Linked DNA regions of Homo sapiens: region 1 is linked to region 2. Evidence: promoter capture Hi-C in 16 types of primary human blood cells and fetal thymus (Javierre and others, 2016). All regions are on one chromosome and are shown on one strand. The core of a region is centred on a gene start or on the middle of the fragment in contact, and the rest is flanking DNA. Distances in the headings are between cores, read along the strand shown. Region 1 overlaps COX5A (cytochrome c oxidase subunit 5A). Region 2 holds the start of CPLX3 (complexin 3).

Region 1 (2,700 bases), core at 59-2,558, 110 kb after region 2:
GGCGGAGGCAGAAAATTTTATCTTTGGGTATTGAATGCAGCACAACCTAGCACTCAGATACCTCTAGGCTCTTCGCTCTCTCTGTTTGACCCTGGAAAATTAACTTAAGTTTATTTTCCTTATCTGTAAAATGGGGACGCTACCCCCCTTAGCAGATTATGAAGATTAAATGTGAAAACAGGTAGGTTAACACTATGCACTGGTAAGTATTAAACAAATGGTAGCTATAAACTAACCCTTATCTAAAAACGTCTTAGTTGTCTATTTATAGAAATCATAACTTAAAGAAATGAAACCTATCTCAAATCACATTTCCTACTACCTGTATTAGATAAGTGTGGTGTAACTTCCAGTTGTTTAAGGCTTAACATATTTTTATTTATTTACTTTTAGAGATGGGGGTCTTGATATGTTGCCCAGGGTGGTCTTAAACTCCTAGCCTCAAGCAATCCTACCACTCCCAAAATACTAGAATTACAGGTGTGAGCCACCATGCCCAGCCTTAACATACATATATATATATTTTTAAAAACTTCACCCAGAAACCTCTCAACATTGTTGTTCTAAGAACACTGAAATTTAAACATTAGTAATATCCTATATATCTTTAATGCAGTAACTGGCAGGAGGAAGAGTAGCAAAAAAACGAAGCAGAAAAGATCTTCCCAGAGACCTAAATTACCTACATAATCCAAGCCCAGAATGAAGTGGAACATGTACATAAATGGACTAGAAGTGAACACGTTTTAATTTCTTTTTTTTTTTTTTTGAGACAGAGTCTCACCCTGTCGCCCAGGCTGGAGTGCAATGGCACGATTTCGGCTCACTGCAACCTCCACCTCCCGGGTTCAAGTGATTCTCCTGCCTTAGCCTCCCAAGTAGCTGGGATTACAGGCATGCGCCACCATGTCAGGCTAATTTTTTGTATCTTTAGTAGACACAAAGTTTCACCATGTTAGTCAGGCTGGTCTCGAACTCTTGACCTCATGATCTGCCTGCCTCGGCCTCCCAAAGTGCTGGGATAACAGGCATGAGCCACGGTGCCCAGCCTTAATTTCTACAACAAGAAAAAAATGGATCTCTACACCTAAATATGTCTGGTAAGTATGAACATTTAATCAAAACTACGTGGATATTTAATAAGTCTTACAAGACTAATATTCAAATTTAATATATCAGAAAACAAGGCCAGGTGCGGTGGCTCACACCTGTAATCCCAGCACTTTGGGAGGCTGAGGCAGGCAGATCACTTGAGGCCAGGAGTTCAAGACCAGCCTGGCCAACATGGTGAAACCCTGTCTCTACTAAAATACAAAAAATTAGCCAGGCGTGGTGGCACACCCCTGTAGTCCCAGCTACTTGGAATGCTGAAGGAGGAGAATAGCTTGAACCCAGGGAGGTTGCAGTGAGCCAAGATCGTGCCACTGCATTCCAGCCTGGGCGACAGAGCAAGACTCCGTCTCAAAAAAAAAAATATCTATCTATCTATCTATCTATCTATCTATCTATCTATCTATCTATGTAAAAACATAGATTAGAACAACCATCTAATGCACTATTATCAAGAACTTAGGGCCAGATGCAGTGGCACTAGCCTCGGAGACAGAGTGAGACCCTGTCTCAAAAAAGAAAAAATTATAAGCCACCTCTTCAAAAACTAAAGCTAGCCTTAACTGAATACTGAAAGTGCAAGTATAAAATGATACAATCACTTTGGAAGACGGTTTAAGCAGTTTCTTATCAAGTTAAACACAAACCTACCATATAACACAGTAATTCCACTCCTAAGTATTTACCCAATGAAAGGTCTATGTACTCCTTCCCCAGAGGTAATTACCTGTCCCATCCACAACAGTGCTTCATGATAAGCAATTCGTTTTGTTCACTGCTGGGCATGGATTTGACTACATGAGTGCTAGGCTTTGTTTCCTAACTGTGAATAAGATGACCACCAACAGCAAATCCAAGTCAAGGAGATCACCACCTTCAAGGATTTGATCATATGTCTTCTGGAAGCCAAATTACAAACTGGTTGTATTCCAAAAAGTCTTTTATAAAACAGAACTAGAACTTTGAGAGGCCAAGGCAGGATCGCTTGATGCCAGGACTGAGAGACCAGCTTGGGCAACAAAGACAGACCTCCATTCTCCACAAAAAACTTAAAAAATTAGCGGGGTTTGGTGGTCCCAGCTACTCAGGAGGCTGAGGCGGGAGGATCCCTTGAGCCCAGGGCAACAAGGCTGCAGTGAGCTATGACTGCGCCACTGCACTCTAGCCTAGGTGATAGAGCAACACTCTATATCAAACAAATTAAAATAAATAAAAATTTAAAAACCCATACATCCCTTTCTGAAGGGCTAAAACAGACTCTCCCCACGTGATTTAAATTTTTTTTTTTTTTTTGAGATGGAGTCTCACTCTGTCGCCCAGGCGGGAGTGCAGTGGCGCAATCTCAGCTCACTGCAAGCTCCGCCTCCCAGGTTCACGCCATTCTCCTATCTCAGCCTTCCCAGCAGCTGGGACTACAGGCACTCGCCACCACGCCCGGCTAATTTTTTTGTATTTTTAGTAGAGACGGGGTTTCACCGCGTTAGCCAGGATGGTCTCGATCTCCTGACATTGTGATCCGCCCGCCTCAGCCTACCAAAGTGCTGGGATTACAGGCGTGAGCCACCATGCCCGGCCATGATTTAAATTATA
Region 2 (2,700 bases), core at 1-2,500:
GGTGCAGTGAGTGTAGCAAGGCAAGCATGAGAGTCCTGGTTTTTCAAAAGCCCATAAAGGAGAGACGCAAGTAACCTGTAACCTTCTCTCTGGCAGCAGGCAGGAGCTGAACAAGAGCCTTCAGGAGTGTCTGTCCACAGGCAGCCTTCCTCTGGGTCCTGCACCACACACCCCCAGGGCCCTGGGGATTCTGAGGAGGCAGCCTCTCCCTGCCAGCATGCCTGCCTGACCCACCTCAGAGCCTGCTTTGCATCACTGGGAAGCAGGCAGTGTCTTGGGTGGGGGCTTGGTCAGTATCCTCTCCGTCTGGGTGCCCAGCTCCCACGCACACCTGAGCTTTCGGCATGCTCCCACCTCGTTAAAGGTGATTTCCCTCTCCCCATGCTGTGATATGCTGGTCTTCTTTCCAGCCTCACCCTAATCTCTGTGAAGGCTTCCACCCCTTCTGAGTACCTGGCTGGGAGTGCGCTCCAAGCAGGCAAGGAGGCCAAGGCCTGGCTTAACCTCCAAAAGACCGGATACCCCACGGGCTTTGAACCCTCGACTATGGAGGGAAAGAGAGCCATGACTGTATATAATTCTGTCCTCAAACTCACCCATAACAGAGAGCAGTGTCTCCCAGTGTCCCTCCTGGCCCAGCTCAGCCAGCATCACTGAGCAGCTCTCTCCCTCCCCACTCCTAGCTGCTCCAGGGGCAGCAGGGGAGGCGCGTGACAGAGCAACCCTGAGAGGCCAACTCGTGGAACCATAACTGGGATTCCCGCTCGCGCCCTCAGGTCTCCCTCCCTTTTCCAGCGTCAAGCTCTCTGGGCAGCTGCTGGGTTCAGTGACTTGGGTGGGTGGGGAGAATGGGGGGCACCCAAGGCTGGGTTTTTACCCCTTGCTGCTACCTGGATCTCCCAGCTGAAATCCTAGTTATTAGTGGCCCAGGAGAGGAGAAAGTTGGAAGAGGCTATGGAACAGGGTTCCGGGAGTGTATGAGCTCAACCCCTCTCCCGGGAGAGCGACCCCACCACCGCAGGCCCTAATCCTCTGTCAGCAGTGCCCAGCGGAGCTCGGCGTTGAAGGAGGCACGTGGGGGAGGCGGGAGTGGGGAGCGGGCACGTGGTCCAGCCTTCTCAGCCCCGTGCTGCCCCCCGCCCCCAGTGAGGAGGGGTTTGGGGAGGTGGGGGCGGGCCCGGGCGGGGGCGGGCGGCGGGCGGTGCCAAGCGTGGGGCGCGGGCCCGCGGCGGGAGCTGTCCGCGAAACCTAGTGCTGAAGTAGGCGCGGACGTGCCCGGTGCCTGGCGCGTGGTAGCAGGCGCCCGGTGCCCCGGCCGGCGAAGACCATGGCGTTCATGGTGAAGACCATGGTGGGCGGCCAGCTGAAGAACCTCACTGGGAGCCTGGGAGGCGGCGAGGATAAGGGAGATGGGGACAAGTCGGCAGCCGAAGCTCAGGGCATGAGCCGGGAGGAGTACGAGGAGTATCAGAAGCAACTCGTGGAAGAGAAGTGAGTGGGATCCCTTCCTGGCTCCAACGACCTCCCCTCCCCACCCCCACAGCTGCTCAGTCCATCCCCGGGCCAGCCTCAGGTCCCAATCCCTTCTCCCCTACTTTCCTAGACACGGTAAGAGACCGGGAGGTGTCCTCTACACTGCCCCCAGACCCATCCTATCTGACACCCAAAACCCCGCTCCAGCATCATGCTCCGGCCAAGGGGGAGTGGGGGGAGGGGCGACCGGACGAGGGACCGACCGGAGCCTGGGACGAGGAAGGGGGTGCACGTGCGTTTCTGACGAAACGATAATCCCTTAATCCGATCTGGTCCCAGCCGCCTATGTCTTCCAACTGGGGCTCCTCTGAACTTGAGGCTCTGAAAAAAGTGGTGCAGCCGCTCAGAGTCGCGGAGACAGACCCTGAGATGGGGGCACTCACAAACATTGAGCACTTGTGTGCCCGCAGTGCTGGGACAGAGTTTGGGGCTGGACTCTGCTGCTAGGCTACTTGGGTTCAGAGCCTGGCTTTGCCTATTAGCTGGATAACTTTAGGCAAGTTACTTAACCTTTCTGTGCCTCTGTTTCCTTTTCTGGAAAGTGGGGATGGTAATCATAATACATGCCTTGTATATTTATGAAGATTAAATGCCAATGCATGTAAACTGTTTAGCACAGCACCTGGCACATGATAAAGTCTCATAAATGATAGCTATTATTTCGCTCAATCCTGATAACAGTTTTGTGAGTTGCAAAATTTTATCCCCATTTTACAGAAGAGGAAGGTAAGTGACTTACCTAAGGATATACCTAAAATGGTAGTGGAGCTGGGATGTGAACCCAAGTTTGGCCTGAATACTTTTCCCCACATGACATAGCTTGTCAGTGAGGGAACAGCAGACCAAGTTGGAGGCCATGAGGGACAAATAATTAGGATCTGCAGAGAGAGCCAGACAGACTGCCACCCTGGTTCCCTAGTTCCATCCAGTGGCAGAGACGACAAAGGGCACTGTGATGGGCAGAGGCAGCAGAAACCTGGATGTCCGGGTTGGAGCGCTTTTGCTACACACAGGGACCAATGCAGCAGCTGCTAGGACTCAGAGACCCCTTCTGTCCCTCCCTCGAAGACCTCAACCCCCTTCTCTCAGCCCTCGTGGTGACTCTGCCTCCGGTGACCCTGCAGGATGGAGCGGGATGCACAGTTCACACAGAGGAAGGCAGAGCGG

Evidence for each region. The method cuts DNA at HindIII sites, captures the fragments that hold promoters and counts their contacts. A CHiCAGO score of 5 or more calls a contact.
Region 1: a fragment that was not itself captured here is called in contact with the fragment with the promoter of CPLX3 in region 2 in 1 of 17 cell types (megakaryocytes); the score reaches 5.6 in megakaryocytes.

What each region holds. Positions count from the first base shown.
Region 1 is chr15:74,931,946-74,934,645 of GRCh38, forward strand. The region is part of intron 1 of COX5A (cytochrome c oxidase subunit 5A); the gene reads right to left. Among named protein-coding and RNA genes, the nearest start is that of COX5A, 4.8 kb to the right of the region's middle. The HindIII fragment of the contact is 3,088 bases long and covers 1-2,700 here.
Region 2 is chr15:74,825,377-74,828,076 of GRCh38, forward strand. It overlaps CPLX3 (complexin 3), which reads left to right and starts at 1,251. Exons shown (of 3, transcript NM_001030005.3): 1 at 1,251-1,491; 2 at 2,658-2,700. The coding sequence starts at 1,328. LMAN1L (lectin, mannose binding 1 like) reads left to right here. Exons shown (of 14, transcript NM_021819.3): 14 at 100-378. The coding sequence ends at 229. RefSeq lists a silencer at 1,233-1,440. The HindIII fragment of the contact is 16,039 bases long and covers 1-2,700 here.